6 separate regions of the Homo sapiens genome follow, and all the other regions are linked to region 1. Evidence: promoter capture Hi-C in 16 types of primary human blood cells and fetal thymus (Javierre and others, 2016). All regions are on one chromosome and are shown on one strand. The core of a region is centred on a gene start or on the middle of the fragment in contact, and the rest is flanking DNA. Distances in the headings are between cores, read along the strand shown.

Region 1 (3,562 bases), core at 554-3,053:
CACACCACGTTCTGCGCTGCAGAGACCCCATACCCTGGAATTCATACTTTCCAATTGAGGAGATTAGGTCTGTATTCTTCGAACAGGGAAACTGAGGCGGATGGGAGGCAGGGCAGGAAGAATGATGCCTGGGCATCCATGACTAGGCTGAGACTACAGTTCATCTCTCTAACCTCTGAGTCCACGACCTGACCTATGCCCTGCATGGTGGCACCCACAGCCCAGAGAGGTTTAGGGCCATGTCCTTGGTCCACCAGCATGAAGGACCCATTTTCAACTAACAGCAAATACGAGGGCATCTTTGTTGTTTTAAAGATGGAAATTTTCCTCTCAACCCTTACTGGCCATGTCTGAGCTTGTGGGGCTGTATCAGGAGGGCTACTTCTGGGGCAAGCTGACGTCTTAGGCTCTCTGAGAAGGTCCCAGCACTCTCCATAAACTCCAAGAAGAGCACCTCACTTCCTGGGATGAAAACTCAAAATCCACTCCCGCCCAGACCAACCTCTGCTGCCTCTGGCAGAAGAAAAGACTGTTAGAGGAGGCAAAGAGAAAATGGGAGAGGGCATTTGTGAGGAGGGCGTGAGTCTTCTCTGAATCCTATTCAGAATTCCTGACCAGATGGGCACTGGCGAAGGGAACAGAGAACCGGTTGGCGGCCCACAGCTGTCGCCCATGTTATCCAGGAATCACTGGCAAAGGCACACACAGCTGCACAAACACAGGGACGACGGCCACTCCGGATGCTCTGCCGCCCTCGGGGTTTCAAGAGCTTGACAAGAAACAACAGTCACATTGTTACATTCAGACAGAATCACAAACTGACCGTTAGGGACAAGCTCACACCAACAGATGAGCACCAAATATGACTTGGTAAGGGCCCCACGGCGAGGTGCTGACACCCAGCACCCTCCTGTCCGCCCTGCCTGCACGGTGCCCTCACACCGGTCTCCCCAAAGGCCCGCGGCACCTCAGAGCAGCTCTGCCCACCCCATGGGCATGTTTCCGACGTCCAAACATACAGTTGTACTGTCACAACCATCCACTCACAAACTGTGACAGACACACAAACTGACGCCAAACTGTCCCACAAAGAAGCAAGGGGATGCCAACAGATGATCAAATGTAATTTAGTCAACCGCGGCGCACTCCCCCCCCCGCACCACACACACACATACACACGATGACACACATTCCTGTGTTCCCCTCGATGTAAGTGGCCTCGCCTCTCGCTGGGCCCCAGGTGCCCCTGCAGGAAATGCGGAGGCGCGGGGAGTCCAGGGAACGGGCTTGGGGTCTCAAGTTCGTGATCCCCACCCTCACCCCGGGCTCCAGCCCTGCGGCGCCGGCCCGCAGCGGACTCACCGGACGATGCCGAACATGACAAGCACGTTGCCCAGCAGCCCCACGGCGCACACGGCCGAGTAGAGCGCGGTGATGGCGATTGCCAGGGCGAGGGACGAGGCGCTCCGCGCGCCTGGCGGCCCCGACGCATTGGCGCCAGCGCTGGGGCAGGCGCTAGGGTAGGCGTCCGAGGCGTTGGCGAAGAGCGGGGGCTGCAGCTCGGCGCCGGCGGAGGGGGCCGGTTCCATGGCTGCCGGCCGGCTCCGCCGCGTCCCTCTCCACCGTGCGCCCTGGGCGCGGGGATCCGACGCGAGGGGAGCGGCAAGGCAGAGGCCGCGGCCCCGACGCCGCCGGCTGCCGCGCCCCGGCCGCCCCGCTGTCTCTGCGCCTCGTCCGCCTGCCTCGCCGCCCGCACCGGCCCAGCCCCCGGCGTCCGCCCGCTCTCCTCGCCCGGAGCGCTGTGAGCCAGGAGCAGCCGCAGGCTCCTCGGACGCGCCCGCCGCGCGCACCACGTGGCCCGGAGGCGGCCGCCAGTCTGCGCCCGCGACCGGGGGCGGACGCTGCACCACCGGCTCGGAGCTGGGCAGGGGAGGCCTCCCGCCCCCTCCCTAGGGATGCTCCGCCGGCTCGAGTGCGACCCCGTCCCAACCTGGACTCCCCTCCCACCCCCTTGCCACTTTGGTGTCAGAGGGACCTGGGTGTGGATCCCGCCTCCCGCCCCTGCACTAACAGGCGGAGTGACCTTGTGTAAGTCACTTAACCTCCCTCAGCTTCATTCTCTTTGTCTGTGAGATGAGGAAAATCGTACCACCTCCCTCAGAGGGTGGTTGGGGAGATTGAATAAAATGATTCGAACAAAGAGCTTAGAGCAGTGCCCTGCGGACAGTTACATGCTCCGTAAATAACCTATATTATCCGTGCCTTTCTTGCACCCCATTCATTCGCTCAACAAAAATTCTGAGGGTGCCTAATAGAAGAGCCGGGTATTTGGGGGGACCCTCTAGTACACAAAACCAGATGCAGCCTCTGCTTCCTGGGGCTTACAGCCCAGTGCAGGAGAGAGAGCGAGCAACCCTAAAATGACATTAAGATATAGGTACGAATTGAGAAAGTGGCAGGGTCTACAAAACCCAGGGGTCAGGACAGCTTCCCTGGGGAAACGACACTTGAGGTGAGGTGTGAAGTTTGGGGAAGAACTAACTTAAGGAAGTAACAAGGGAAGAGGATTCCGGATAAAGGAAGCAGAGGGACTGAAAGGAAGCCAGGAAGAGGAGAAGGCAGGAAGTGAGGGGGCGATGAGGTGGTGGGCAGGCTCTTGAAGACCACCTTAAGGAGCACTCTGGCTGCAGTGCGAGCAGATAGAAGGGGGGCACTTGGCTAAGTCATCCTTGCCACACCCCTTCCAAGACCTAACCATTCCAGATTAGAGCCATCCTTCTTCTTGGGGTGCCTAGCCTTTCCAGAACATTCTACCAAGCATTACTTTGCTCCAGGCACTGTGATAAGCACTTTATCCATGCACCAACACTTTGGTGTAGCTTCTATTATTATTGTCCCCATGTTACAGATTTAGTGCTCAGCACTAAATTATCCCATATAGTAATTATTTCTATCCGAACTGGTCTCCCTCCTTAAAGGGACCAGGTCTGATTGACCCCTGCATCCAGGAGAGGGCTGGGGTCACAGCAGGTGCTCAAGAAATACTTTTTGGATAATAAAGATCCCAAAGGGAACTGGAGTGGAACAATATTAGGGGTTCTGAGCTCTAGGCTCTGGGGCAATGCTCTTGGATCTGTGTGTGGCTGGACAAGGAGCTCTCCCTCATCTCACCCTCTAGCTTGAATCATCCATATATGTGCAAGGCTCCTACCCTTTCCCAGAAAAAAGCAAAGCCAGAATTCCCAAGCTCACCCTCTTCTCCATTTTCTCCACCCCACTTAGCTGCTGTCCAGCCACTTCTACCAACTACAGCAAGCCCCCCACCCCAGGGCTTTCCCACTCAACCACCTAAGGACTTATCAGAAAGATTTTTGCTGTGGTCACCTGCTGCCAAAACTCTCTCCCTTTCCCAAAGGGCCTGGTACTCAGAAACTTTTCTAGTGCCAGCAGAGAGAAATTGGGATAGGAAGAAGGAGGGCTACTTTATTGGAATTCTGGTCCCCTCCCTAACCCTCCAAGCCAAGTTTTTTCCTACCTCAGGACATTTGTACATGCTATTCCT
Region 2 (3,562 bases), core at 399-2,898, 410 kb after region 1:
TTTGCTCCATTATTTCAGGTCACTCAAGTGTGACTCCCTCAGAGAGGCCTTTCCTTGGCACCCCCTTTTCAAAACATTCTATCCATTTACCCTGTTTTATTTTTATTTTAATGTATCACTATCTGATGGTATACTATCTGTAATTTATCTATAGATATGCTTACCTAAGTTCTTATTGTGTCTCTCCCAATCTAGAAAGTATCATTAGATACTTTATCTGTTCTGTTCACTACTATATCCCTGCATTTAGAAGGTGCATACACTAGGTACTAAGAAAATACTTACTGAATAAATAAATGAACACTAGCACCAAACAGTACTACATAGTCCGAGACCAACAAGAAATTAATAGAAATGGAATTAGGTAAGTATCCATGACGTATGTGAGCCATGAGAAAACCAAATAACTTCAAAGGAACAAGTTTCCTGGCAATGTGAATACCGAAAAGTGGTAAAAGAAATAAATCATGCCATATCACTTAACAGTAGAGACATACTAAACTCAAAAAATATTTATACACAGCAGAAATTTCATCAACACAAAATTATTCATCATATATATATTTTTTGAGACAGAGTCTTGCTCTGTCGCCCAGGCTGGAGTGCAGTGGCATGACCTTGGCTTACTATAACCCCCGCCTCCTGGATTCAAGCGATTCTCCTGCCTCAGCCTCCCCAGTAGCTGAGATTACCGGCATGTGCCACCACACCCAGCTAATTTTTGTATTTTTAGTAGAGATGGGGTTCCACCATGTTGGCCAGGCTGGTCTTGAACTCCTGACCTCTGGTGATCCACCCGCCTCGGCCTCCCAAAGTGCAGAGATTACAGATGTGAGCCACCGCACCCAGCCTTTCCTACCTCTTTACACAGCTAATTCCTTTAAATCTCAAGCTTGGCTAACGTGTCTTCCGGAATACCTTCTGTATTAGGGTTCTTCTCAGAAACAGAACCAGTAGGATGGATACAAAACATACATATTTGAGATCTGATAAAACTATTGCCTCAAAAGTGCTTCTTTTTGAATATCAGTATTTAATTAATTAAATTTTTTTTTCTTTTTTGAGACAGAGTCTTGCTCTGTCACCCAGGCTGGAGTGCAGTAGCGCGATCTTGGCTCACTGCAACCTCCAGCTCCCAGGTTCAAGCAATTCTCCTGCCTCAGCCTCCCAAGTAGCTGGGATTATAGGCATGTGCCCCCACGCCCGGCTAATTTTTGTGTTTTTGGTAGAGACAGGGTTTCACCATGTTCACCAGGCTGGTCTCGAACTCTTGACCTCAAGCGATCCGCCTGCCTTAGCCTCCCAAAGTGCTGGGATTACAGGCATGAGCCACCGTGCTCGGCCTATTTTATTTTTTGAGACAGGGTCTGTCTACTCTGTTGCCCAGGCTGGAGTGCGGTGGCATGATCTCGGCTCACTGCAACCCTCCGCCTGTGGGGTTCAAGTGATTCTCCTGCCTCAGCCTCCTGAGTAGCTGGGACTACAGACACATGCCACTATGCCTGGCTAATTTTTTGTATTTTTAGTAGAGACGGGGTTTCACCATGCTGGCCAGGCTGGTCTCAAACTCCTGACCTCATGATCTGCCCACCTTGGCCTCCCAAAGTTCCAGGATTACAGGCGTGAGCCACCCCGGCCAGCCACCCAACAGATATTTAATGCTGCTGTTGCTAATGGCAGCCACAGCCTTGGTGGTGTTAACATAGGTATATGAGAATTCTAAAATATATTATCCTCTTCCCACCTTTAACAGAACTCTTCGAATGTATCAATTCCTCAACTTGGTAACTGTGGCTAGGTCAGTTCAGTGAAAGAAACACAGAAGCATGTACTGCAGGCTAGAAACTTGATATTAAAAGCAAAAATTAGGCCAGCGGCGGTGGCTCATGCCTGTAATCCCAGCACTTTGGGAGGCCGAGGCGGGCGGATCATGAGGTCAGGAGATCAAGACCATCCTGGCCCAAATGGTGAAAACCCGTTTCTACTAAAAATACAAAAACAACAACAACAACAAAAAATTAGCAGGGCATGGTGGCACGCACCTGTAGTCCCAGCTACTCGGGAGGCTGAGGCAGAGGAATCGCTTGAACCCAGGAGGTGGAGGTTGCAGTGAGCCGAGACTGCGCCACTGCACGCCAGCCTGGCGACAGAGAAAGACTCAAAAAAAAAAAAAAAAGCAAAAATTATTTTTTTCTCAATTACCCTAATAATAGCTTCATTCCTTGTTTCATTTTGAATGTCCAAGATAGCCTCAGATTGTACATACAAATATAAATTAATCTACTCAGATGGAAACCGTCAAGAATGAAATTATTTTCTGCCTTTTCTATTCCTTTCTGGGTAATTGCTGTAACGCTAGACCCGTGTTATTCAAAATAACCTTCTCCCTCCTGAGAAAGCTTAACAAGCCAGGCAAAAATCAAAAGAACAAAAGTTTACTGGTTAAGAGAACTTGCATTATCTTTCATTGGACAAATTAGCACAAGTTAGTTTCAAATATCAATCATATACAAACTGGTTAATGATTTTGGTTACAAAAGATAATATTGCAGAATAATTTAACCTTCTTGTCTTTGGGGATTCAAGTGGGATTAATAATACTCATCTTTAATGAGAATCTCATGAAATAGCATTTATTATAAAATAAAACAGGAAGAAATGGGCTGTGCCTGGCATATAGTTGGCAGTCTTAAAGCTCACCTCACTCCTCCATTTCAGTTCTAAAACAAAAAAAGCAGTTTTTAATTCTATCATGATTCAAAGCCTGATCAAAATACACAATGTCTAAAAACACCATCAAGATAATGAAACCTAAATTTACATTGGCAGACTGAACAACTAAAGTGTTATTTCCACATTTTCTTGGACTTGATTTAAAAGCATATCACGGCCAGGCACGGTGGCTCACACCTGCAATCCCAGCACTTTAGGAGGCCGAGGCGGGTAGATCACCCGATGTCAGGAATTTGAGACCAGCCTGGCCAACACGGTGAAACCCCGTCTCTACTAAAAATACAAAAAAAAAAAAAAAAAAAGAAAGAAAGAAAGAAAGAAATTAGCCGGGCGTGGTGGTGTAAGCCTGTAATCTCAGCTACTCAGGAGGCTGAGGCAGGAGAATCGCTTGAACCCAGGAGGCAGAGGTTGCAGTGAGCCGAGATTGCGCCATTGCACTCCAGCCTGGGAGACAAGAACAAAACACCGTCTCAAAAAAAAAAAAAGCACATCACTAGAGAAAATTAAGAAAGTAATAAGGTATCTATTCTTCTAGAGTGACCTTCAGATGCTACTACATTAATATAAGGAGTAAATACTGTAATCTACACGCATCTTTATTATCTTCTTTTTTTTTTGAGACAGAGTTTCGCTTTGTCACTCAGGCTGGAGTGCAATGGTGCGATCTCAGCTCACTGCAACCTCCGCCTCCCAGGTTCAAGTGATTCTTCCGACTCAGCCTCCCGAGTAGCTGGGATTAAAGGTGCATACCACCACGCCCAGCTAATTTTTGTATTTTTGTAGAGACGAGATTTCACCATGTTGGCCAGGCTGGTCTTGAACTCCTGAC
Region 3 (3,562 bases), core at 324-2,823, 400 kb before region 1:
GGGACTTACCACTTAACATGGAAGAGGCTTCCAGAGGGGATCAGGTCCAAACCACCACTGCAACTCTGTTTTACAAATGGAGAAACAGAAGCCTAGAGCAGAGAAGAAACTTGCCCATGGTGACCCAGGCATCCTGCAGTGGAGCTTTATACCCAGGACCTTCAGCCCTCCACCCAGGGTCTTTTCTGCCAGACAAGAATCCTCCTCCAGAAGGGACATCACTCAGAGTGAATCACAGCCATCCAGGGAGTTCTTTGTGAACTACATAGGCCATCTCCCCATTACGCCCACACTCTGCAACTAACAGAAATATCTCCTCTCCCCTGTATATGTTAGGACCAAGAATAAAATCAAACATGTGGAGGACATGTCAGCTAGCCTGGGATTTCCAAGATACCCCGGTTGGTAAGAACTACTTGGGGTGCCCTCATCTGGAGATTCTGGCTTAGTAGATCAGAGGTGGGCCTGATAATTTATATCCATGAGCATACCAGGTAATTCTTATAACTAAGCGAGTTTTGGAAAACACAGGGCTCATCTAGGCCAGCAGAGGTTTCCTGTCCCAGAGTGGGCAGTGGGGTTGAAAGACCGGGCACAGTGGCTCACACCTGTAATCCCAGCACTTTAGGAGGCCGAGGCAGGCAGATCACGAGGTCAGGAGTTCAAGACCAGCCTGGCCAACATAGTGAAACCCCATCTCTACTAAAAAAATAAATAAATAAAATTAGCCGGGCGTGGTGGCAGGCACCTCTAGTCCCAGCTACTTGGGAGGCTGAGGCAGGAGAATCGCTTGAACCTGGGAGGCGGAGCTTTTAGTGAGCCGAGATTGTGTCACTGCACTCCAGCCTGGGTGACACAGTGAGACTCTGTCTAAAAAAAAAAAAAAAAACACTGTGGGTTTTCCACTTGCAGTTAATGAGAGTCAACCTCTATCCTATGTTGATTTCTTTTTTTTTTTTTTTTTTTTTTTTTTGAGACAAAGTCTTGCTTTGTCACCCAGGCTGGATGGCACAATCTCAGCTCACTACAACCTCTGCCTCCCACGTTGAAGCAATTCTTCTGCCTCAGCCACCCGAGTAGCTGGGATTACAGGCGCCGACCACCACGCCCAGCTAATTTTTGTATTTTAGTAGAGACAGGTTTTCACCATGTTGGCCAGGCTGGTCTTGAACTCCTGACCTCAGGTTATCCGCCTGTCTCGGCCTTCCAAAGTGCTGGGATTACAGGCGTGAGCCACCACGCCCAGCCTCCTGTGTTGATTTCTTATGGTACCTCTCTTTTATAACAGAACCGTAATTCCTGGGCACACATGGCAGCTCAGAAATGTTGCCTGACCTACTTTGAGGAGATGATTTGAGCGAAACACCCATTCTAGCCTGGATGACATGAACATCTCCGTTTGGCTTTGTGCTTAGACTCAAGAACCTGGAGCTAGCTGCTGTGAGAGGATCAGATGTCCGTGTGAAGATGCTGGCGGCCCCTATCAATCCATCTGACATAAATATGATCCAAGGTAACCTTGGTTTCTGTGGCTTATGTTAATTGGCTTTTTTGTTCAGCTGCCACCTCATTTTCATTCCTCCTCAGGTGTGGGTGTGAAATGCCTGTGATTAGCAGCAGCTGTTCTCCAGATGAGCCGTCTGCAGGCTGTGTCAGCCCTGTCTGGCCTCCCTTTTCTGGAATGTGTGGCTTTTTGAGAAGATTGCAGTGGGGAGTAAACTAAGCATTGTGAAGTGCCTGCGACATGCTGGTTTCATTTCATATGTTACCTGATTTTCATGATAACCATGAACACTAAAGAATATTGTCCCCCTATACAGACAAGCAAGCTAAGGCTCAGAGGTTGGTTAGGCAGACAGTCCAAAGCAGAGCCCAGATCAGGCCTAGGATGGCGTGGACTCAAGTCCATGCTCTTTCACTGCCCAAACATCACTGGTTGACCCTTTAATGCTCTTCTCCCTCAGGAAACTACGGATTCCTTCCTGAACTGCCTGCTGTTGGAGGGAACGAAGGTGTTGCACAGGTGGTAGCGGTGGGCAGCAATGTGACCGGGCTGAAGCCAGGAGACTGGGTGATTCCAGCAAATGCTGGTTTAGGTGAGTTTCTCCAGGTGTCAGCTGCCTATTCGTTCTTCCAGATCCTATTTCACCCACTCTGTCGGCATCCACTGATTGGCCGAGTGTACCTGGGTAATGCAGGGTTTATTTTTTTTATTTATTTATTTATTTTGAGACGGAGTTTTGCTCTTATTGCCCAGGCTGGAGTGCAATGGCGCGATCTCAGCTCACCAAAACCTCCGCCTCCCCAGTTCAAGTGATTCTCCTGCCTCAGCCTCCCAAGTAGCTGGGATTACAGGCGCCTACCACCACGCCCGGCTAATTTTTGTATTGTTAGTAGAGATGGGGTTTCACCATGTTGGCCAGGCTGGGTCTCAAACTCCTGACCTCAGGGATCCGCCTGCCTCGGCCTCCCAAAATGCTGGGACTGCAGGCCTGAGCCACCACGCTTGGCCTTGTTTTGTTTTTTTTTGAGACAGGGTCTCACTTTGTCACCTGTGCTGGAGTGCAGTGACGCGATCTCGGCTTACTGCAGCCTCCCAGGTTCAAGCGATTCTCCTGCCTCAGCCTCCCGAGTAGCTGGGATTACAGGTGTACACCATCACGCCCGACAAATTTTTGTATTTTTAGTAAAGAGGGGGTTTTATCATGTTGACCAGGCTGGTCTCAAACTCCTAACCTCAGGTGACCCACCACTCAGCCTCCCAAAGTGCTGGGATTACAGGCATGAGCCACTGTGCCGAGTCTGAATTTTGTTTATACATGGAGATGAGCCAAAATTCACTTCATGTGGAGGATGTAAAATGAGGAAAGACACAAAGGTGAGATTGGGAAATGGTGGAAAATCCATTGTAGCCTCAGCAGAGGGTTTGCATATGGGAGAGGATTGCACGAGTGAGAAAGAAGGCCAGAAAGGCAGGTTCAATCACGTGAGCCCAGGAGTTCTAGGCTACAGTGAGCTATGATCGCACCATTGCACTCCAGCCTGGGCAACAGAGTGAGACCCTGTCTATTTTTTTTTAAAAAGGTAGCTTGTGTCCACATGGGGTAAGGCCCTGCCCAAGCCAAGCTAATGAGTAGGATTTTGTTTGATATATTATAAGGAGTCATAGGTGAGTTTTGTTTTTAGCACTTAACAGTTTTCAAGGCACGTCTGTTATTGATCCTCACAGCAGCTACAAGAGGGAAGCAGGGCAGGTATTATCCATCCATTGGACATAAATTGAAGCTTGAGAAGTAAAGCCCTGGCCCAAAGTCAAACAGCAAAATGAGAGTGCCCACTGGATTCTTTCTCCTGGGTTCCCATTACACACCAGTGTTATGATCTTCTGGGTTGTAACTTACAGCGACCCAGCTCAAACTTGCTTTAAAAAAAGAAGTTGGGGCCAGGCGTGGTGGCTCACGCCTGTAATCCCAGCACTTTGGGAGGCCGAGGTGGTGGATCACCTGAGATCAGGAGTTCAAGACTAGCCTGGCCAACATGGTGAAACCCTGTCTCTAATAAA
Region 4 (3,562 bases), core at 318-2,817, 390 kb before region 1:
ATAAAAGCTTCTTGAGCTAGAGTGTGTGTAAAAAGACACTTCCTAATTAAAGCAGGAACCCCCTCAATAGTACGGATTCAGCTAGCGCATACTTGCTGAGCACTTACTAGCTACCAGGTACAGAGAGGGCTGCGACACTGATGTGCCCTCTGAGAATTCACAGGCTTGATGAGCAGGTGAGTCACGTGGCCAGAGCACTGTGGTGAGTATTCACCATGCACCAGACTGTGTGCAGCGCTTGACTTACCCTTCCCACAACCACCTAGACAGGGGGTGCAGTTCTAACCTCTGTTTTATACTTTTAAACAATGAGGCCCAGGCCGGGCGCAGTGGCTCATGCCTGTAAACCTAGCACTTTGGGAGGCCGAGGCAAGTGGATCACCTGAGGTCAAAAATTCGAGACCATCCTGGCCAACATGGTGAAACCTCGTCTCTACTAAAAATACAAAAATTAGCCAGGCATGGTCGTGGGTGCCTGTAATCCCAGCTACTTGGGAGGCTAAGGCAGGAGAATTGCTTGAACCCAGGAGGTAGAGGTTGCAGTGAGCCAAGATCGTGCCATTGCACTCCAGCCTGGGCTTCAGAGAAACAGTGTGTCTCAAAAACAAACAAACAAAAAAAAACAAGGCCCAAAGAGGTCAAGTACCTGTCCCAAAGTCTAGGCAGCAGGAGAGCCAGGCTTGACCCCACATTTGAGCACACCGCTTCAGCCCTATACCTGACAGACAACCCCTGCGGCAGACCTCAATCCCAATGTCATTGCAGGGGGAAGCGTTGTTACGGGTGTAGGCACTGGAGCCAGAATGGCTGGGTTCAAGCCCCTGCTCTGTGACTTACTAGCTGTGGGCCTGTGGAAAGTTAGGCAATACGTGAAAAACAATCCAGGCCTCCGTCTCTTCATCTGTAAAATGGGGGTTATATAAACCCTCTGCCTCTGAAGGGTGGTCTAACACGGGTCCCCAGCCCCCAGGCCGCAGACCAGTACCAGTTCGTGGCCTGTTAGGAACCAGGTCACGCAGCAGGAGGTGAGCGGTGGGTGAGCGAGCATGGCCACCTGAGCTCCGCCTCCTGACAGATCAGTGGCAGCATTCGATTCTCATGGGCATGTGAACCCTATTGTGAAGCACGCAGGGAAGGGATCTAGGTCCCATGCTCCTTATGAGAATCTAATGCCTGAGAATCTGAGGCGGAACAGTTTCATCCCAAAACCATCTCCCCCACTCCAGTCCATGGAAAAATTGTCTTCCATGAAACCGGTCCTGGTGCCAACAAGGTTAGGGACCGCTGGTCTAAAGGACACTGGGCGATATACAAATTGCTGTACAAATGACGGATGGACTTCAGCTTTCTCATCTCTAAAACAAGGTTGTTACGAGGATTCCCTGAGGCAGTGCATGCAAAATGCTTAGAACTGTGCCTGGCACATAGTAGAAGCCTGGTAAGTGTCAGCTAGTCTGATTAGATGAAGTGCAGCAGGGATACAGAAGAGAGAGGGCTTGGCTCCCAGGAGCTACTTTCTACAGCAGGTGGCAGTCAAGGGGCACTTAAGACCAAACTACCCAGCAGCCTCAGGGACAGAAGTACCTGCCCTAGGACAGCAGCTCCTTCCATTTGGTAGTTTTGAAAGTCTACCTTGTGTTGTCCCCAAATGTGCCTGAGGTCATCCTTAATCAACAGACTCCTAGAAGAGCCAGGGAGTGGGGAGGTGAACATAGGTTAAGTCAAGTGAACTCCAGGCTTATTCACTTAAAAATTATGTTAGCCTCAATCCTGTATGTCAGCTGACATGGGGGTGTGGGTGTCAGACAGCAGGTACTGAGAAGGCACCTCCTGCAGTGAGAAGATGCTTGTCATTGTTCCCTGCACCGTCCACATCATTCCTTATCTGTAGAGCTGTTTCCTCACGTTGATTCTTAGAATGAGCACTGGCAGATGAAGAGATGAGGTCTGGGCCATTTTCACTGCATCACCCTAGGTCGGACACCTGTAAGTGAGAGCAGAGCCAAGGCTGAACTCAGGCCTCGAGCTCATCTGGGGAGAGCATGTTTCTTTTCAGCACTTAATCAAAGCCTGACTGGATGGGTTAGATCAGTGGATTCCCAATCCTGGCTAAACATACAAGTCATCCAGAGCGGGTGTGTGTGTGTGTTTAATATACATTCTCGTCTCCTGATTCATTGAGTCTGGGATTGGACCTAGGAATCTGGTTTCTTGGTTGTTTTGTTTTGTGTTGAGATGGTCTCACTGTGTTGCCTAGGCTGGAATGCAGCAGTGCAATCTCAGCTCACTGCAGCCTCAACCTCCCAGGCTCAAGTGATCTTCCCACCTCAGCCTCCTGAGTGGGGCCACAGGCATGTATCACCGTGCCCAGCTAATTTTTTTTTATTATTATTTATAGACACAGGGTCTCACTATGTTGCCCAGGCTGGTCTCAAACTCCTGGGCTCAGGCAATCCTCTCACCTTGGCCTCCCAAAGTGCTGGTATTACAGGTGTGAGCTGCCATCCCCAGCATGCATTTATTTATTCATTCATTCATTTATTTTCTGAGACAGGGTCTCACTCTGTTGCCCAGACTGGAGTGCAGTAGTGCGATCAGGGCTCACTGCAACCTCAATTTCATGGCCTCAGGTGATTCTCCCACCTCAGCCTCCTGAGAAGCTGGGACTACAGGCATGCCGCCTTGCCCAGCTAATTTTCTGTACTTTTTTTGTAGAGATGGGGTCTCCTTTTGTTGCCCAAGCTGGTCTTGAACTCCTGGGCTCAAGTGATCCACCTGCCTCAGCCTCCCAAAGTGCTGGGATTATAGGCATGAGCCACTGCTCCCAGCTGGAATCTGTATTTTTCAACCTTTCCCAGAGATTCTGAGAGCAGGGTTTATAAAGGAACCAGGGTTGGAGTAGAAGCGCCATGGCAGGTTCAGGAAGGGCTCTGTCTCTGCCTTGCATCCACTCTTTGTTCTCTTTGGACTTTTCAGGCGTGGAGGAACCATGGTAACCTATGGGGGGATGGCCAAGCAGCCCGTCGTAGCCTCTGTGGTAAGCTGGGTGCAGAGGGAGGCATGCCTGGAGCCGGGCCAGACACCTCAGCCAGGCCACATCCCCTGGCACGACAGCTGTCTAAGCTTAGGCAATGCCCCGTTCCTGGAGGGGAGTCTGTACCCTTAAGCGGTACCTGAAGTTCTTGCCCTCAGAGCCCAGCATGTCCTTCCTGTGTCTGCAGAGCCTGCTCATTTTTAAGGATCTCAAACTTCGAGGCTTTTGGTTGTCCCAGTGGAAGAAGGATCACAGTCCAGGTGAGTGCATGGCCCAGTGCCAAGAGTCACAGATGAGGGCAGTGCCTAAAAATGGCAGCAGAAATGACCAGCTATTCTGAGCCCTGGAGGGGTGATTGGGTCCCCAGCCCCACAGAAGGATCAAAGAGAATAGCCTTAGTCCAGCTACAGTCAGCAAACAGTTATTGGACTAAACTGGGTTAGTCTTAGGGGCGCAGAACAAGACAGACACTGCCCCCGTCCTGAAGAGCTGACAGTGGGGAAAGATGGATAGCCAAACAGAGAGAAT
Region 5 (3,562 bases), core at 437-2,936, 360 kb before region 1:
CCTGTTGTGTTTGCTGGCCAGGCGTGGTGGCTCACGTCTGTAATTCCAGCACTTTAGGAGGCCAAGGCGGGCGGATCACCTGAGGTCAGAAGTTCGAGACCAGCCTGACCAACATGATGAGACCCTGTCTCTACTGAAATTACAAAAATTAGCTGGGCATGGTGGTAGGCTCCTGCAATCCTAGCTACTCGGGAGGCTGAGGCAGGAGAACCGCTTGAACCCGGGAGGCGGAAGTTGCAGTGTGAGATCACACCATTCCACTCCAGCTTGGGTGACAGAGTGAGACTCTGTCTCAAAAATAAAAAATAAAAATAAAAGATGCTAATTTACCAAGTGAAAAATAATCAGGAAGTTTTTCTTGAATGAATAATAAATAGAGATAGGACTATGAATTAAGTAGCATTCTGTCATTGTTTTATTAGTAATATAACTATTACAAATGTGATCAAATTTTTTTTTATTAAAAGTCACTTTTTAAAGTCAACTTACCCCCCAAAAAAGTGTATTATTTTTTTCCCCCAATATATGGGGAATTTAATTTTTTTCTGTCATTTTGAAAAATCAATGCCAAGAGATAATACCATATTGAGATTTTTGACCAAATGTTAACAGCGTAAATTGCCCTGGTTCAAGACCTCCACTCCTTGGTTCTTGGTCCCTTCAGTTTGTGGTATGAATAAACATCATTTGTAATTATTTGACTAAGTCATTTAAAATCCCTGTTCTTCAGTTTAATATACTGTTTTGCTCCTCCTTTCTCATTGAGGTACTGTATGAATTTAAGGGCCATACGAAGTATTTGTCCCTTCTTAAAAGATAGGCACAGGATATAGACTCGGTAATAAAATGTGGTTTGGGTTTCTAGTATTTTTTTATGCTTCCAGGTACCCAGAACCGCAAATTTTACTTTGAGCTCCTCAGAAGAAAGGTGCTCCAGGCATCTGAGAGAATACCGTTGGGGTGATACTTACAAATTTGTAAGCTAACACTGAAATCTTAAAACTTCCGAAAATATTAATGCATTTGTATGACTTATTTTTCAACTGAGTATGTCAAAGTACTTTATGAACAAGTGTTGTCCCTAGTTTGTACTGATGGGGAAACTGAGGCATGGGGTGATAAGGTGACTGGCCCAAGGTTACAAAATGAGTTATTGACAACTCCGGAAATAGAAGATTTTTTAAATTCCCATACTAGATACATGTGGGCATTGACATTCAAAGCTTCCCTCATGCTATTTCCTTTAGTCCTGTCCTTTGGGGATTGCCTCTGAGGGTGAGAGGGTAGTTCAGGTTTCCGGGCTTGTTCAGCCTTTAGTCTCTGTAGAGGCTTCCAGCAAGCTGACAAGTTACTGCCAAAAGTGAGACAGATGGTATTTTTTATGATGTTGTCCTTAGTTGGAGACTGCTAGTGATTCTCCTCCTCAGGCTACTCTTTGAAAAGCTGTAAGGTGGTATCAGCTTTATCGTGGTTGGCTGAGGAAGGATTTGTACAAGTAAATGTTCTCTGCCTTATTGTCATTCCTAGGGCCGTCTGGTCTTATAGTACCCTGAAGGTGAGGGATTAGATTATGCTCTGAATTTGTATGCCCATAGTTTGAGGAAATGTTTTACTTGAGTTTTCTGTGTGTTGAGATGAAAGTCTCCCAGGCTAAAGATTTCTGAACTGCACGCAATGTCTGAAGAAGCGCTTGAAAGGCACTTTATTTCTCCCAGGTCCCCAACCATGGGTTTAGGTTTTTATGCCAGAAAGGGGACCTTCATGAACAAAGACCCCCAAGACCTAGAGAGAAGAGGAAGTCTGAAAGAGGGAGGTTTGAATTCAGCCTTCAGGAATGAAGAGGGCAGACAGAGCAGGAGGCTCAGGCAAGGGAGTCAGGAACCACAGACCAGAAACATGGACTTGGAAAGGTTTTCATGTAATTGAAATGAAGCTATTGATCCATCCATTTTAAAAGAATTTGAAAAATTCATTAAAATACTTAATTAGTGGCATCCACTAATTAATAAAAGCATAGGGAGTGGCATCTTTAACCAAAAATGAAAATGAAGAAACAGACTCCAGCCCAGGGACCAGGGGCGATTATGAGGGACATGGTGCCTCATACAGCCAAGATGATCCAAGAGGCATCATCTTTAATGAAGCTTTAACACCTGGCAGCCTGCTCATTGTGTTGTTTAAGAGGTAAGTATGAACTGGTTTTGTTTGTAGCTTTTGTGTGGAATCAGGTAGTGCTGTCTGCAGAGTGTAAACCTTTATTTCTTTAAGTAGGAATAACAGATAAAGTAATTCTATATTAAATCCCAAGAGTTTTATTCTAAATTGGTAATGTGACTTTCATCTCTCGAGTTTTTTCAAATCGTTTTTAATTTGTGGTTGAGTCTTCACGAACTTCTTGTCATCAGGCAATAGTTGATTCCCCTTTTTTGAAAGCTTTCAATTTCATTTATCCTTAGTGTTGAAAAGTGTCAGAAAATTGAAATGGACACAGATGATTGTATCTGCCCTCCCTTTCAGGAAAGCCATGTTGACTTTAAAATATCAAAAAAGAAAGTTCAGTTATGATTGCAGGGGGTAATGATAGTTTGATCCACAAACTATTTGCAGTGTAAAAGTGAAATACCTTAGCTGACTTAGTTCATTTTTGAAAGTTTTGAATAGCTAAAACAAAGTTGGCAAATAGGCTCATAGAGTAGTTACAGAGTAAGACTAAATTCATATTTGATGCAGATTCCTCTCTACCTCCCATTCTGGGAGGATTTAGTTTTACTGTTTGGTGTTTAGGATAATGATTGTTCTGTTTTTCTCACCCTACTATGTGAATATATATTCTGTTAGAGATGGGCTGTTATCTGCAATGTGGACTCAATACCATGGGCTTGAGTTTGGTTAGTTCATCATTAGAGATTTTTTTTCAGCAGTTGGTTTACTTTATGAGAAAGGATCATGAGTTTAATTTTCCCACTGATATATTTGTGTTCTCATTGCTGAGATATAAGTTTCTTAATGATTTGTTACCTTTTTCTATTTTCCTAGACTAGTATTAAAATTTTGATGGCATATGGGTTTGGTTCCACTTGTAGAGAATAAATGTTCACAACTTACTGGTATTAGCACACACACATCACATGCAGAAATGGTGTTTTCTTGCCACTTACTCTTTCTCATAAGATGCTTATATTCCTGTGGGCATTTGTCTTCCACACTACAGCACATAATTTGATGAAACTGATTTTCTGTGCAAGAGCTTGTGTTTCTCCAACTCTGGTTTTATGGACCACTTTTCATTGGTATATAGGAGGCGGTTAAAACGTGGTGGTAGAATGCAGGTTTTAGGTTAGCTGGGTGTGAAGAATCCCAGGTCTTTGGGATAGTCTTGGCAAGTTACTCAACTCCTCTAAGTTAGTTTCTTGATCTGTCAGATGACAGTAAACCTCAGAGTTGTGAAAATTAAATGGATATAATGTGTGTAAAGCACTTAGCATAATGCTTTATACATCGTAAAACTTTCAAAAATAGGAGTAGTAATTATTACAAAGAAATGTGAAGAAGAGTCCTAGTG
Region 6 (3,562 bases), core at 314-2,813, 270 kb before region 1:
GATGATGAATTTAATATATCTGTATAACTGGTGGAAAAGAAATACTTCAAATTTAAGTTGTAGCTTCATTGTATTTTAATGTTTTCTGATTTAGAGGTAGAAGCGATATTATCAGGAAAGTGATTTAAAATGTGGTTTTTGGCCAGGTGTGGTGGCTCACGCCTGTAATCCTAGCAATTTGGGAGGCTGAGGCAGGCGGATCATTTGAGATCAGGAGTTCGAAACCAGCCTGGCCAACATGGTGAAACCCCATCTCCACTAAAAATACAAAAAAATTAGCCGGGCATGGTGGCGGGTGCCTGTAATCCCAGTTACTCAGGAGGCTGAGGCATGAGAATCACTTGAACCCAGGAGGCAGAGGTTGCAGTGAGCCAAGGTCATGCCACTGCACTCCAGCCTGGCAACTGAGTGAGACTCCAACTCAAAAAAAAAAAAAAAAAAAAGAAGATCAAAGTATTTCCAAAACTGATCTAAACAATAACTTTAGGTTAGTGATATACACTATAGATTGATTCTATCACATCACAATTCATATCCAGAATGATTTATATTTCTTAAAATATTACTTTTTGCAAAGTAACGTGAACCAAAGCAATAAAGACAGGAAGTCCCTACATGGTGTTTCTTGAACTCCTGAAGTGGGCCAAGCCTATGGATTTAACTAAAATTGGGCTTCCTTTCAGCTTTTGTTAGCAAGTTCTCAAACAGGTCCTCATTATATTTTAGAGAACATCACAACTTTGAAGAAAGAAATTGTGACAGGAGAATTAAAATGGGTATACTATGAGGCTATTTCATAAATATTCCCGAACCAAGATCCTCAGGAAGAATACCATTTATAATGGATAGTTTTGGGATACATACTGTCTGTTAAGAAAGAAAATAGAATATTTCTGATTAGTCACACAATTTACAACTATTTTAAAATGTCAGAGATTTATTACTGTTTCTAGCCTCAAAGCTTATCTTTCTATATTGCTATTACCCACACATTTGCTCCTTGAAATTACTAAATTTTCCTCAAAATGAGAGTCTGAGATTTAGCATATACCTCTGCAGTCACTTTACACAATTGTAATCCCCAATCCACTACATCCGTTAAGCTATACCATTGTTTTCCACATTATCTTCATTTTATTTTGCATTCTGTCAAGTAAAATGAGATTTAAGGCTGGCCTTGTAAGTACTGCTTAATGATATAACCAATGCTGTAATCAGTCACCATCATCTGTGCAATGACTTTGTGGCTTGCTGAAATGCAAATATGTGAGGAAAATTTAACACATAAAACTTTTATTAGTGTTTCTATACGTCTGGGAAAAGTGATTCATTAAACTTTTTAATAAGATTGACATAGATTGAGAAAAAGAAGTTTTGATAAGTAAAAGGAAGTGAACAGAGATGGCAGTGGGAATAGGGGATGAGGGTGCACAGACACACATACACCCACAGAGCACATTACCCTTGCTTTGCAAACCCAGTAAGAAATGCTTTGCAGTGCAAATGACCACAGAACCAGCAGGAATCGAGGTTATCTTGCTAAGCACAGAAGAAGATACCCAGCAGAAGAGTCCAGCTCCTGGTTCTTAACTAAAGTAAACAATAAATATCATAGTCACTTAAATTATCAACAATGTATTTAAGTAATACCCCCAGATGGTCTACAACATGCAAACTAAAAAATGTAGAATTTAATCCTGATAAGATCAGTTAATTGCGAGTGCTTTGCTTCTATATTCTTCTCTTTAACAAAACATGACAAGATTAAGTCTCAGCAAAGAATGGCTTTAAGTGCCTAGGGGAAAACCTCTTAAGAGCAAAACATATGTCTTTATACATTAATATTAATATTTGTAATTTCCTATTTTGAAAAATTATATCAGCATTTCCCTAGGTTGTATAATAATCAGTAGGCACATTAGCCTGATGATTAAAACAATTTTTTTTAAGTTAAAACAAATGCTTTTAAATGGGCACTTGCAATAAAAGATAAATCAGATGTGGTAATGGCTTCTTTTGCAAAAGCCATGTGTAAACAGCACATAAAGATGACAAGTCAAGCAGTAGGAGCCCATTCTTCAGCCAAAAAAGGAAACAAATGAAGACAGAAGAACAAAAATTACCGAAAGGAGAAACATCCTCTGGTTCCCACCCCCAAAAGCTTGTAAATAATAGTTTTGTACAGTTTCAGTGGACAACTCAGGCCACTTAGAAGTTTGAAAAAGGACATTAGAATCACAAGCACTCAAGATGGGGATAAACTAACAACAGAGTAACCATGGGCTAGCAAAAGGTGATGTTAAAATTCTGTCTTTCCTTTCTAGTGTGACATTCTTTATCATGCAATACATTTCTCTTCATTCTAATTTTTCTCTCTTGGATGTACCCTCTCTCGCCTTTTTTTTTTCAAGGTTGTATGCTATTAGTTTCTAGCTAGAAATATATCCTTATAGTGCTCACTAGCTTCTCCATGAAACTCAGAGTCATTTTCACAGTCTATTGCTATTCTCTGGTATATAAAGATTACATTTGTATAAAATCTGGATAAAGGGGCTTATTCCGGAAGATGTGGGCCTTTACTAGAGTTGATAAAATTGCTTATGATAGGAAAATAATTCCACAATGCAGCCTCTCACAAAGGACAGCAAATGAAATTAGCCAATGATAATTATCTGTCAAACATTGTTTTTATAATTTCCTAAATAGTGCTGTTATTAGATTATCCCCAGAATAGGTGAACGTAAAAGCAAACAGCTTCAAAATCCATGCCGGATGCAAAATTTTAACTATTAGGTAATAGAAAATTTTGCCTTTACACTGCACTCACCAGCAAGGACTCCACAGATCAAATGAGTGTTCTCAAATCTGAATAGATCTACAGAGGTCAAAGTGCTTGGGCAAATATTAAAGGTTATACTAAGCATGTCTAACAGACCAGAAGCGTTTGGTGGTCAGTTTTATTTCATTACACTATGAAGGGTAGGGGTGGAGGGATGAAGGTGGAGAAAAAGGAGCTATGACCAGTACAAAAACTCTGAAGTTAGAATGGAACAAAATTGAATTTGTTTGGCTGGATTTCACAGAAGTCTCAGTTCTAAAAATTGATTAAAGTCATAATAAGCATTTAAGAAAATTTGATATCTAGAAAACAGTTACCTTGAGGTTAGGCCCAGTGGCTCACGCCTGTAATCCCAGCACTTTGGGAGGCTGAGGTGGGCAGATCACTTCAGGTCAGGAGTTCGAGACCAGCCTGACCAACCTGGTGAAACCCCATCTCTACTAAAAATACAAAATTAGCCAGGCGTGGTGGCGGGTGTCTGTAATCCCAGCTACTCAGGAGGCTGAGGCACAAGAACAGCTTGAACTCGGGAGGCGGAGGTTGCAGTGAGCCGAGATCACACCACTGCACTCCAGCCGGGGTGACAGAGTGAGACTCCGTCTCAAAAACGAAACAAAACAAACAAAAAACCCAAGAAATAGTTACCTTGATTCTACAGAACCAATGCAACAGACAGCTATTATTATAGAAAATTATTATTGAATATTAACTAGCTATGTTTTA

The links. The method cuts DNA at HindIII sites, captures the fragments that hold promoters and counts their contacts. A CHiCAGO score of 5 or more calls a contact.
Region 2: a contact is called between a fragment that was not itself captured here and the fragment with the promoter of OPRD1 in region 1, in 2 of 17 cell types (total CD4 T cells and activated CD4 T cells). The highest score is 5.8, in total CD4 T cells.
Region 3: a fragment that was not itself captured here is called in contact with the fragment with the promoter of OPRD1 in region 1 in 6 of 17 cell types (non-activated CD4 T cells, neutrophils, naive CD8 T cells and 3 more); the score reaches 9.0 in non-activated CD4 T cells.
Region 4: a contact is called between a fragment that was not itself captured here and the fragment with the promoter of OPRD1 in region 1, in 2 of 17 cell types (naive B cells and M0 macrophages). The highest score is 5.1, in naive B cells.
Region 5: a contact is called between a fragment that was not itself captured here and the fragment with the promoter of OPRD1 in region 1, in 4 of 17 cell types (M1 macrophages, naive B cells, naive CD4 T cells and 1 more). The highest score is 5.6, in M1 macrophages.
Region 6: a contact is called between a fragment that was not itself captured here and the fragment with the promoter of OPRD1 in region 1, in 1 of 17 cell types (megakaryocytes). The highest score is 5.2, in megakaryocytes.

Annotation. Positions count from the first base shown.
Region 1 is chr1:28,810,411-28,813,972 of GRCh38, reverse strand. It overlaps OPRD1 (opioid receptor delta 1), which reads right to left and starts at 1,803. Exons shown (of 3, transcript NM_000911.4): 1 at 1,363-1,803. The coding sequence starts at 1,589. The HindIII fragment of the contact is 20,164 bases long and covers 1-3,562 here.
Region 2 is chr1:28,396,319-28,399,880 of GRCh38, reverse strand. All of the region lies in intron 1 of PHACTR4 (phosphatase and actin regulator 4), which reads right to left. Among named protein-coding and RNA genes, the nearest start is that of PHACTR4, 28 kb to the right of the region's middle. The HindIII fragment of the contact is 1,507 bases long and covers 895-2,401 here.
Region 3 is chr1:29,214,539-29,218,100 of GRCh38, reverse strand. It overlaps MECR (mitochondrial trans-2-enoyl-CoA reductase), which reads left to right. Exons shown (of 10, transcript NM_016011.5): 2 at 1,416-1,513; 3 at 1,965-2,096. Among named protein-coding and RNA genes, the nearest start is that of MECR, 15 kb to the left of the region's middle. The HindIII fragment of the contact is 3,428 bases long and covers 1-3,287 here.
Region 4 is chr1:29,195,673-29,199,234 of GRCh38, reverse strand. MECR (mitochondrial trans-2-enoyl-CoA reductase) reads left to right here. Exons shown (of 10, transcript NM_016011.5): 8 at 2,977-3,037; 9 at 3,222-3,294. Among named protein-coding and RNA genes, the nearest start is that of SRSF4, 16 kb to the right of the region's middle. RefSeq lists an enhancer at 458-958. The HindIII fragment of the contact is 3,116 bases long and covers 10-3,125 here.
Region 5 is chr1:29,169,045-29,172,606 of GRCh38, reverse strand. The region is part of intron 1 of SRSF4 (serine and arginine rich splicing factor 4); the gene reads left to right. It also overlaps a transcript of MECR not described here. Among named protein-coding and RNA genes, the nearest start is that of SRSF4, 11 kb to the left of the region's middle. The HindIII fragment of the contact is 921 bases long and covers 1,226-2,146 here.
Region 6 is chr1:29,082,023-29,085,584 of GRCh38, reverse strand. All of the region lies in intron 16 of EPB41 (erythrocyte membrane protein band 4.1), which reads right to left. Among named protein-coding and RNA genes, the nearest start is that of TMEM200B, 40 kb to the left of the region's middle. The HindIII fragment of the contact is 1,200 bases long and covers 964-2,163 here.